Regions from separate parts of the Homo sapiens genome. Here regions 1 and 3 are each linked to region 2. The links are contacts of gene promoters, found by promoter capture Hi-C in blood cells and fetal thymus (Javierre and others, 2016). All regions are on one chromosome and are shown on one strand. The core of a region is centred on a gene start or on the middle of the fragment in contact, and the rest is flanking DNA. Distances in the headings are between cores, read along the strand shown. Region 1 holds the start of LNP1 (leukemia NUP98 fusion partner 1). Region 2 holds the start of DCBLD2 (discoidin, CUB and LCCL domain containing 2). Region 3 overlaps LOC101929298 (a long non-coding RNA gene).

Region 1 (3,972 bases), core at 447-2,946, 1.5 Mb before region 2:
TTGTAACAAACATCAAAAGAACTTTAAATATTCTCTAATTAAATCTTTACTATAGCCTGAGAGGTAGATGTTTTCACCATTTCACAGATTAGAAAAACATGCATCAGATCAGTAAGGTCCCAAAGCCAGTAAGCGACACTCTATTTGGCTCTACAGTACCATCAATTAGGAAATGGAGGAGAAAATGAGAGAATAGCATAGGCTAGAGAATGGAAATGAGATGTTTATCAAAGTATAAAAGTAACCAGAACAGATTCGTTTACTAATGCCAACCTTAAAAATAAAGCCAAACAAAATCAGGCCTTTAGATAAATATTAATCCAAAAAATGTTTCAAGAAAATAACACCGATTCCCTTTGGAGAGGGGAACTGTGCAGCTGAGGACAGGGACTGAAGGAAGACTTTTCACAGTAAACTCTGTAACTTTTGGAGTTTAACCGTAACAGTGTATTGCTTACTCCAATAAATAAGAAAAAGGTTTAAAAAAAAAACTTCAAATATGTTTTAGTTCCTATCAAGTTTGTAATTGTTAGCACTCTACAATCCTCCAAGAGGCCACAGCAAAACTGAAATTTCAGAAAAAAAAAAAAATCCTAACTTGTGTTCTGAAAAAGGCAAGGCAGAGCTTATATTAAGGGGCAGAAAATTTGCCTTTGGGGATTGGGGGATCAGGAGGGGAGAAAAGCCTATTGCCTGCAACGATCAACTCAATTCCACTGCTATTTTTAGCCCATTTTTTTAGTCTGTTGCTAAGAAACCCTATTGCCTGAAGGCAATTTACTAATAGGAACTTACATGAAGCAGGAGAAACCGGTGATCCTGAAATTCTTTCCAATTAGGCCATTCTATTTTAATCAGTCCATTCTGGTGCCACTTGATAAAATATCTCCTTTCAATCTTTATGTAGCTCTACTGTGATGTTGTTGCACTTAACAGCAAAACAATCATTTATGAAATCTTAATGTAAGGCTTCTGCAAACCAGTATACCAGAAATGGAGAACCATAGTTCTGGACTCTGATTTTTCTATTAATAGTTGTCTTCATGAAAATACCGTGTATTCCAAACAATACCTTGCAAGGTAATTTTATATTTTAAGAGATCTGGTGCAGAGCATCGGAAAAAGAGTTGATAAAGCTATTATAGATAAAAAGCTGTGAACTGAAATTACGATTTGGGAATGAGACGAGAAGAGGGCTGAGACTGCTACTGCAAAACAACCCGGGGGGCGTGCGGATCAGAGCGAGATGTGGGCTGACGCAGAAATCAGCTCAAGATACAAATACGCCAAGAAAGGCTCGAAGCCGGCGGGAACCCTGACGCTTCGCATTTCTACCAACTCAGTTTAAGAAACCCCTAACAACGCAGATGTCATCGCTTCGTTAATTGGTGCCGACGATGAGCCACAGCGACCACGCTCAAACCGTTTCGACTGCAGCCAACCTAGATGTGCCATTTCCACCTAGTCTTCTGCCATCGCTATCTCCCCTATAACCTCAAATTCGTCCAAACTAAAATCTCGCTATGTTAGTGATAAGAAGTTCAGTGATGCAGCAGCCTTCTTCAGCGGTGAGCTCTTTCCTCACACATCTTTAAAAGTCCTTCTAATCCGTTGGTTTCTCGGGCACGCGGGCAGAAAACCGTGCTAACGGCCACAGAGGTTCAAGAGGTGCCAACGTGGCTATAACTGGAAAACTGGATCCGAAATCGACCAGTAAACTGGGTAGCTCGGTCTACGCCCCGCCCACCACCCTTGCTAGCCAATAGCCTTCACAACTCTTCTGCCACTCCCGCCCATTCCAGTGCTGTGCCGCTGCTTTTTCTTCCACTCGGATCTCTTGAGCGCCCTTAGCCCGCTGTATACGCGCCCCTCCTCGGCTTCAGTAGGCAAGAGGGCCATCTGCCCTTCTTTCCTGAAGGTAGAGGGGACAACACCAGCTACGACGGGGACTCCAGAAGTCCATCTCCCGAACAGCAGCGGGGCGAAAAGAAAGAAAAAGGGTTTCCGAAGACTCCTACTCACACCCACGCTTTCCCTTAACCCGGAAGTGATTTCCGCCCCTCCTCTCCCTCTTCGGTTGATACTGGAGGAGAAGGACGGCCAGGTCTGGCCCGGCATGCCCTGGGCTTCCGGTGACCTCTGGCCCTTTTCTGTCGTCCGCTCTCTCTGCCTAGCGTGCTCGCTCGCTCATTGCTTTCCTTCCCTCCCTCGGTCTTCCTTCGCACGCTGTTTGGTGATTGTGGCGCTCGCGACAGACAGGGAGGCGGTGGCAGAGGACACTTGTCATGGCCGCCTCTAAACCTGTGGAGGCAGCGGTGGTCGCAGCCGCTGTACCGAGCTCCGGGAGTGGGGTGGGCGGCGGCGGGACTGCGGGCCCGGGCACGGGGGGGCTGCCGCGATGGCAGCTGGCTCTGGCGGTCGGGGCACCCCTGCTGCTGGGCGCGGGTGCCATATACCTGTGGAGTCGGCAGCAACGGCGCCGGGAGGCCAGAGGCCGGGGCGACGCCAGCGGCCTGAAGCGCAACAGCGAACGGAAGACCCCGGAGGGCAGGGCCAGTCCGGCCCCGGGCAGCGGACACCCTGAAGGTCCCGGTGCTCACTTGGACATGGTGAGAAGCAGCCCCAGGCCGTAGAGGAGGAAACTGGCTCGTGCAGCTTTTCCTTGGCGGGTTGTGTCAGTGAGGGGGCTTCCCATCAGACGGAAGCTGCCAAGCGGCAGCACAACACTTGGGTTTAGGGAGACTCATTTCTGGCTGCCAGTGGAGGGCATAGAGTAGCTCGATGACAGGTTACTGGCATTCTTTGACAGTTTGCTTTTGGTTTCAGAAAAATCCTTTGCTTTTCTTCTCAGTGACACAGCATTTATCCCTAGTGTTGTAGATGGGAGTGGGGCATTTGCAAATGTGATGATTGTATTTAATAAGTGAAGGAAGCTAAATTCGATTAACAATTGGTACATCGTGATACGAACTGTTTCTGTGATTTCCAAAGCCTACAACCTAATCGCTAAGAGCCTTTTAATAATGAGCCACTCCCCCTTTTGGAGTGTGTTTTTGCTGGGGGTAAGTGGGCAACTACAGTGACGGTTAGTTGACAAAAGCAAAACAAAAACAAAAACGATTAGATGGCTTTCTACATAGAAAAAGAAAGACTACACAGGTTCTAAAGAGTGAAATGGTGTTCAGTGGCATTTGTTTTACAGCCTCTGAACTGTAAGCAGAACTGTCAAGCTCCCAAGGCTCGTCCTCTCTCAGCAACCCCGAAGCCCCCTTGGCTGCAAGCACTCAGCGCCCGTAACCTCTCCTGCCATGCCCCAGCCCCAAGGTGTCCTTTTGCACTCCGGACCCCTTGGCCTTTGTCAGAAAACGCTCTGCACTGCACTGTCCCCTCTTGCTGCACAAGAGTAGCGGCCACAGCAATGCTCACCAGGCTTGGTTGCACACAGCCCCCTGCCCCAGGTCCAGGCCTACACACACATACAAAAAAAAAAAAAAAAAAAATGGGAGTGACTTCTTAAACTTTTTGATTGGAAGCATCTTAAATTCAGTTTTTCCATTTCACCTGGAAATGTACATGACCAAGCCTAATATGCATGATACAGTTTCTCTGATGTGAGGCCAAGCATTGGATTATTTAGTGAACTGCTTTGTATGGTTTTGGTGAACTGACTGTTAAATCCTTTTGGTATCTGACAGCTGTGCAGAGAATTAGTCTGGCTGCATTTGACAATACTGGGATTGGGTGTGGTGGATTTTCTCTGGGTCTGGAGTTGTTCAATGGTAGTACCAGAGTAAGTCGAGGTCAGAGAAACGTTTGGTCAAATATCTCCCAGTTTTATACATAAGTATATACAGTTGGTCAAGTAACTTCTAATTGTATCCAAGTGTATACACTTAAATATGTATGCAAGTCATTTCCATATTATACTATTCAGGTTGAATTTTTTTTTTTTTTTTGAGATGGAGTCTCACT
Region 2 (3,931 bases), core at 675-3,174:
GCAGAGGTTGCAGTGAGCCGAGATCATGCCATTGCACTCCAGCCTGGGCAACAAGAGCAAAACTCCATCTCAAAAAAAACAAAAACAAAAACAAAAACAAAAAAAAAACTGACAATGTCATTCTTTCTTAGAACCCTTTAGTTATTTTCCAGTGATACAAAATAAAATCTTGACTCTTAGCTTGCCTTACATCTTGCCCCTCCTAACTTTTCCAGACTAGTCTCCAGTTCCTCCCATTACGTCAGCAGTAGTCAATCCAGCTCCATCAACACCATTCCCTATTGAGCCTGTGACCCAGCCTATTTTGCCTCTGGCCTGAGATCACCTTTTTCACTTTAGTTTCTTATTCAAGACACTGGCATTTCAAACTGACGGGTTTTTTTGAACTCCGTTCACTGTGGTATTGTGGCACCAGTCCACACCTCTAACAGGGCACTAATAACAATAGGTTTGTTTACATGTCACCTCCTCCTCCAGAATGTAAGTTCTTCTCAGTAAACTTTTTATGCCCAATGCCCACAATGGCTTAGAGCATAATAGGGTTTCTTAGGCATTTAATAAATGTTAATTGAATAAATTTGGTTAAAGAGATTATTGTATAAGAAATATGCAGGGGAGTTGAAACATACGACCTCCAAAGTCCTTTCCAACTTAGACTTTCATTGAAGGATATCAGTCCCTTCCATGTTTTTGAATATCACATCTATGTATGACTATGTATACATATGTATATGTATACATGTATGGCTATGTATGACTCCCAGAGCCATAATTTCAAAGCTCTCAATCTGAGCTTTCGACTAAAATATCCATCTGCCTGTTACATAGCTTCACTTATTATCTAAGTTGGCATCTCAAATTCAATACGTCCAAAATTAACTTACTTTCCCACACAACTTGTTCCACCTTAGCAGTTTTTTGTATTTGCTAATGACACCATTGTCCTTTCAGGGACTGCTGTTAAAAACATCCTACATGGCCACTCTCTTCTAAAATAAATCACTGCGTAGACCTCTGCATTCCTCTTTCCTAAAATTCTTTTTGTCGTTCCATAGGCTTACAGTCTCCATCAAACTGCTTGTGACTCTAATTAGCACTTACTTCATTCTGACTTGCATGCTATATTTCCATCTCTGTTCCACATTTCAAGATTTCTGTAGATAGACAGCAGGTGCTCAACAACTCCTTGTAGAATGGCTGCATGAAGGTTGGGATGTTAGGTTTAAATTGCCTTTGCGGCACGGATCTTGTTTTACACTTTTTTGTCCCCCACCCCCCGCCATAAAAAGAGCAGAGAAAACAGGGAACACATATATTAAAAACTGAACACTGCATCTATTATTCTAACTCGGAGCTGTTGCAACAACTGGCGGCAGTTTTAACAAAACAAGCCACGCTCTGCCATTAAAAAAAAAAAAAAAGTCCCTTAGACTCAGCTCCCAGCTAAAACAACCCAGGATCCAGGTTTCCCACCCCCTTCCAGTGGTCTGATGTGCGTCGGAGGAGCGAGGAGAAAGGAGCAAGGAGCAAGCTGGGCCTGAGGAGCAGGGAGCGCGGGATGGGGGACGTCCCGGAAGTCACTGACGAGCTGGCTGCCGCCTCTGCGGGATCAGTTTGGGCTGAGGGCCCAACAATAACAGGCGCCCGGGCCGGGCGGGGGCCGCGGGGATCCGAAGCTGGAGGGCGGGACCTGGATTGGAGGAGGCGGGTGGGACGCCTCCAAAGGCCGAAGGGGATTGGAAGAGGGAGGTAAGGGGCGGTGGAGCTCGAGGAATGGGCCGGAGAACTAGCGGGTCGAGCGAGGAGCGAGCATGCTGATTGGGTTTCGCGGAAGGAGACGGACCAGAGCTGGCCGAGGATTGGCCGCGGTGCCTAGGGGGCGTGGCCGGCGCGCGCGAGAGGGAGCGCGAGGGAGCTGGCTGCGGGCCTGCCTGCCAGCTAGCCGGAGCCGCGGGTGAGCGCGGCGAGCGGCGACCCTGGTGAGGAGCGCGGCGCGGGAGGCACGTTCCTTAGCTCCGCCGCGGCCGTCCTCCGCGGCTCGAGGACTCCGCTTCCTTCCCTCCCCTCCCCTGCGCTCCGGCCTGGGGTCTCGGCGCGGGGAGCGGAGGGAAGGGACGAAGGAGGAGTAGGTGAAAGCGGGGTGAGGGGCGGAAGGGTCCCGGCGCGGGGTGAGGCGAGGGCTGCCTCTTGTTCTCCCGCCGCTGCCGCCGTCTCCTGGTCGGGTGCCGCGGCCAGAGGCGCGCGGGGCTGCCGAGGCACCCGCACTATGCAGGCAGACTGCCGGCCGCCGCGATGGCGAGCCGGGCGGTGGTGAGAGCCAGGCGCTGCCCGCAGTGTCCCCAAGTCCGGGCCGCGGCCGCCGCCCCCGCCTGGGCCGCGCTCCCCCTCTCCCGCTCCCTCCCTCCCTGCTCCAACTCCTCCTCCTTCTCCATGCCTCTGTTCCTCCTGCTCTTACTTGTCCTGCTCCTGCTGCTCGAGGACGCTGGAGCCCAGCAAGGTGAGTGGTCCCAGGGGAGTGAGCGGCGGGGGAACCTCCGTCGGGGCTGCGGGTCTCTTGGCCCCTGAACAAATCTGCAGACGCTGCAGGGAGGCGCGGTGCGCTTTCGTGCGTGGCCGGACCTGGCTGGGTACTCACGGGGTTGAGTTGCAAAGGCAAGGTCTTGCCCGTCTGTCCCCCAAGTTGGCGCGGCTTTACTTTTTGGCAAGGCCATTTATTTTTCTGAAAGGGGGACGTGAGACCCTGCTATGAAAGCCTCGTTGATATTAGGTCCTTCTGGGGAAAATTTTGGGGAGGAAAAAGAACCTTTGGAGGTAATGACCCCTAAAGTTAAGCTGCACGGATGGATGGACACTGTAGGAAGGCAGGTTAATTAAATAGCATCTTAAGCCTATTAAAGGTAAGTGGTGGTAATTATGATCCTTTGTGAAAGAGCCCGGGTTCTGAAGCGAATGGAATAGTTTCTGCTTATCTCTGAGTCTTGGATTCAGAACATGTTCTTTACAATCCATCATTGAGGCTGGTGGTCTAGACTGCCTTGGTCAAACACTGGGTCTGACCCAACGCTATGCTAATTTGCCCAAGTGAAGCTCTCCACATTAAAAAGGTAAGCCTTTCCAGAAAGTGACAAAACTTTTTTTTTTTTCCACCTACAATCCTTGAAAAACCTGTTCCAGAAACAGGCAAAACTGTTTATTAAATACTTATCATAATGGAAGGAGAATGCAGGGTGATTTCTTTTCCCCTTTAGTACTGTTTTCCCGTAGTGTACCACACTTTTTGAATCAGTTTGGCATCAGTTTTTGAAAAGATATTTCCATTGCATTTTCCATTTTATTGCAGTGGGAAGGATAAGGATTGGATTGTTACTTATTGCTAGGAAGAGAGTTTTTTAAAAAGAAAATTGTTCTCTGCCTTTAAGCCCAGCTTTATGTTGCTCTCATGGTTTTCAGTGAAGTATGGAATCATGGCCTGTCATTAAGAAGATGCCGAACCTTGACAGGCATGTGGAAATATAATCTCTGTAACTATAAGGAAAAAATGTATTTGGCAAACTGACCCCTTACATCTAGACACGTTTCTATATAGAGTAACTCAAAATTTAGATGCTTAGCATTTAGGTTTTAGTTAGATCGTCTTCTAAAATTACTGAACATCATCATCATTTAATATATTAAAGTGTGAAATCCTTCTTTCCACTGTAGAGATGTATTTCCCTCCTGGTAGGGGGGAAAACAGGCTTATATATGGCTAACACTTAGGGCTTACTTTGTGGCTGGAACAACTGGACTAAGTGGTTTGGGTTTATTAACTCCTTGAATCTTCACTACAATCAGCTGAGATAGTTATTGTTATCCCAGTTCAAACGTAAGGACATTGAGACACAAAGAATATAAGGTACCTTGATGCAGGAGGGCATATTACTCCATAGGC
Region 3 (3,629 bases), core at 100-2,599, 1.1 Mb after region 2:
CTACAGTGAAGCCGATGAGGCTCAAGTTTCTTGGCTCCCTGCTGGCACAGTCTCTTCCAGTGTGAACTCAGCAATGGGATCCATGGCCAGTTTTATCAAATTTACAAAAGTAAATGTTTTAATGTGATTAAGACCACAATCTCTTTTTTTTTCCACTTAGATGTCCACTTAGATTTTCTTTTCCACTTAGAGTTATCAAGAGCATTTGGGAATCTGCTAGGGAATTTCAGTTGGGAATATATTTAGTTTGGACTTAGTGGAATATATTTATGTGGTTTCCAGCCTCTCCAAAGTATAGTTATTTCTTAAATTCCAATTTGTTTGTAGCGCAGCTCACCAAGTATTACACCCAAGATGCAGAGCCAGAGGAGATATATTCTGTGGTCTCTGACACTGAAAATATGTGGGTAATAGAGGTGAGACAAGATTTGAAAGGTAAAGCAGCATCAGGTGTCATGTGGAAAATTATTCCAGGCATCAGAAGACAAAGTTTCAACAGGAAGGATTGCCTCCGATTGATGTAATTTCTCTCATAGCAATAATATATTCAATAATGCAGTATATTTAATTTTTTTTTTGAGACAGAGTCTGGCGCTGTCACCTTGGCTGGGGTGCAGTGGTGCAATTTCAACTCACTGAAACCTCCGCCTCCTGGGTTCAAGCAATTCTCCTGTCTCAGCCTCCAGAGTGGCTGGGACTACAGGCGCCCACCACCATGCCCAGCTAATTTTTGTATTTTCAGTAGAGACGGGGTTTGACCATATTGGTCAGGCTGGTCTCGAACTCCTGACCTCAGGTAATCCACCCGTCTCAGCCACCCAAAATAATTTTTATAACTGTAAACACAAAACATTTTTTCTTGTTGATGTAAACCATGTAAAATAGAATTTATCAGAATTCTTGTTTGTAGGGTACAAACCTGTAGCAGTACCACAAGCTTTGTGTGTGTGTGTGTAGTACTGCATGTTTACACAGCCTTTCTATCAATAAGAAAAACAGAACTAGAGGAAAGATTGCATTATCTTTTCATTATTATGGAAAATAATATTACTAAATTATTGTCATATGAAAGGCTATTGAAGAGTACACTGCCAAAAATATAGGAAAAAAAGTGATTGTGCAAGGCATTTAGTAAGAAAACAAATTGTTTTTCTAGTCAACCTTTTAAAATTAGTAATTTGCATGGTTTATGTTTTCATTCAATATATTCATTTTTATATCTAATTTTCTTTTAAATCCTTTTTCTTTAAAGAGGACCCTCCAAATTGTAAAAACTTCAGATCCCACAAAACCTGGATATGTCCTCTAGTGCATACTATGTGTCAGATACATGCTCATTCTTAGACATAGAGATACGGTGATAGATAAGACCAAATGCTTAACATCAAGGAGCAAGTTTAATTGGGCAAGATGAGCAAATGGGGTAAGATGGGAAACATAGGACGGATCCCCAACTTAATCTGAAGGGTTCCTGGAAGGCTCACTAGAGGAGATAACTGTTAATATGCTCTCTTCTTCTCTGCCTCCTTTTAGCACCTGATTTCCACCTATAATACTGTAATTCAATAACTTGTGTGATATATGAGAAATCCTGAAGTTCATCACACTGTAACTGAATTGCCATTCCCACAACGTAAGTACCATTCTCAAAGGTATGAGAATAGAATGAAAGTGTTGATCCTTGAAGCATTTAAACTGCAAGAGTAGTTTAGTAATGCTAAGCGTTTTTGTTCTGAAAAGTCCACCAGGGAATAAGCTTCTGTATATATCTTAGAGCACAGTATTTACTGTGTGGCAGGTGGCCCAGGAATATTAAGACAGCTGTCAACATCAAGGAAAGCACCAGCCCATGAAAAAGCAAGCAGATGGATTGGGGCACTTCACTAGCTGCCTCCTAGAATAATAGCTGTGCGTGGCCAAATGAGGCAGTGTCATGCGGCCCAGGGCAGCAAAAAGCTATTACTGAATATAAGCACTCAATTAGGAGGTGGGGTGGGGGGAATATCTTCTCTTTTCCTTTGTTTATATGCTCAAATTTTCATTAAGAACTCCCACAGCAAATAAAAAAGGGGAAAAATGATGTTAGCATTTCTCATTGTTACTTTCTAATTATCATGGTTTGTAACATGGGGAAATGCCTGTCTTGCTGCTTCAATGAGAACAGATGGTAAAATTTTTAAGTAATTGGTTATTCCAACTTCTATGAGATGCATGATGTTTTATTGTATTGTTTGTCTGGTTTTTGTTTGCGGAACATGTGGAGATTGAGATCTTTCGAACACACATCTTTTAATGCTTAAATTAAGTAAAATGTGTTAGTCTGACCTAAACTACATTTACACTTTTCTCCCTTTGATATGATGATACTTCAAAGAGAAATTAGTCCTTTACAAAAATATAACATTAACATTAAAAATTAAATATATAGCTTTCAAACAGCACAAAATTTGCTAATATTGAAACGTACTTTTAAAAATGTATAAATAGGGGTAGCATGTCTTTGACAAACACTGATTATAACATGTGTTCCAAAATAGTTGTTCACACCAATTCAGTGTGATGTGTCTTTTATCTAAGTCAAATGCTATCTAAAATATAAGGTCATATGTAAGATATTAAGTTTTATTAATGGAGCTTCATAAGCATGACGTAGATAATGGCTCAGAATAATAATTTACTATTAGATGAGAAATTCATCCTCTATATTGTTTTCCCAAAATATTTCATCTGACTTCATAAACTCTGCACTGTAATATGCACTTCTGATATACAATTTTAAAAGTATTCCATAAAGAATGATTATTTATAAATTTCTAGACTGCATTATATTACTGTTAGTTGTAAGTTTTGTTTCTTAGGGCTTTATGAAACAAAGCTTTGGAGCAAAACAAACAAAACAGAAAAAGTGGCTGTGAACTGGTTTCCTTTTTATCTTATTGTGACGTTTTATAGTATACATGTCCCAGAAGCTAGAGCTTTCTTACTATGGGTACTTTGTTCTCAGTTTGATTTCTTGCAAATGGTTTAAAAACAAGGCATAGTGGCAGCTGCTTTTGTGAGCAAATGTTTTGATTAGGGAGAGAAAGCAGCTGGAAATGCTACATGCTGTCATATAAAATGAACCAGTTTTCACATGGGAACTTTACCTAATCTAAAATTGAGATTAACGTAATTTCCTGTACATGAATTTTCTTTGCATAGAATAAAATAGAAATCTATTCACTTTGATTACAATTTGGAGTGATGAAATGATGAACATAGTGCTGAATATAAACTTGACATGTCTATGGAAATCTTACTCCATTCTGAAAGAAAGTATCATTAACAAACTTCCAGAAAAATTTATTTAAAAATATTGCTAAAGGTAGTAGCAAAAAAAAATCCATATGGAGCTTATAAAACCAAATGTTACTATAGATGACATAATTTTTTACTTCTTAAAAATGGGGCAAGTACATTTCTTAATGACCCCACTTTCATTTTGAAAGACCTGTAAAAAATTATTTAAAGTATAACTTAACTGGATTTGCAAATAATGAACAAAAGAACCAGACAGCAATATTTTAATTAGTTTATCCTACCAATTGAATTCCTTCCTCACCTCTTCTAGTCAGCTTTTCACTGGTAAA

What was found. Contacts are between HindIII fragments. The CHiCAGO score rates a contact against its expected background, and 5 or more counts as called.
Region 1: a contact is called between the fragment with the promoter of LNP1 here and the fragment with the promoter of DCBLD2 in region 2, in 1 of 17 cell types (total B cells). The highest score is 5.2, in total B cells.
Region 3: a fragment that was not itself captured here is called in contact with the fragment with the promoter of DCBLD2 in region 2 in 1 of 17 cell types (monocytes); the score reaches 5.7 in monocytes.

Annotation. Positions count from the first base shown.
Region 1 is chr3:100,399,263-100,403,234 of GRCh38, reverse strand. It overlaps LNP1 (leukemia NUP98 fusion partner 1), which reads right to left and starts at 1,696. Exons shown (of 4, transcript NM_001085451.2): 1 at 796-1,696. TOMM70 (translocase of outer mitochondrial membrane 70) reads left to right here and starts at 2,146. Exons shown (of 12, transcript NM_014820.5): 1 at 2,146-2,609. The coding sequence starts at 2,286. RefSeq lists silencers at 1,678-1,757, 2,368-2,447 and enhancers at 1,818-1,907, 1,918-1,967, 2,018-2,127, 2,809-3,728. The HindIII fragment of the contact is 4,606 bases long and covers 1-3,972 here.
Region 2 is chr3:98,899,688-98,903,618 of GRCh38, reverse strand. It overlaps DCBLD2 (discoidin, CUB and LCCL domain containing 2), which reads left to right and starts at 1,924. Exons shown (of 16, transcript NM_080927.4): 1 at 1,924-2,497. The coding sequence starts at 2,293. LOC105374002 (a long non-coding RNA gene) reads right to left here and starts at 1,605. Exons shown (of 2, transcript NR_189121.1): 1 at 1,102-1,605. RefSeq lists silencers at 1,606-1,655, 1,796-2,485 and enhancers at 1,593-2,308, 2,309-3,025. The HindIII fragment of the contact is 5,361 bases long and covers 1-3,931 here.
Region 3 is chr3:97,816,408-97,820,036 of GRCh38, reverse strand. It overlaps LOC101929298 (a long non-coding RNA gene), which reads left to right. Exons shown (of 3, transcript XR_427389.3): 2 at 1,534-1,633. Among named protein-coding and RNA genes, the nearest start is that of CRYBG3, 3.8 kb to the left of the region's middle. The HindIII fragment of the contact is 819 bases long and covers 940-1,758 here.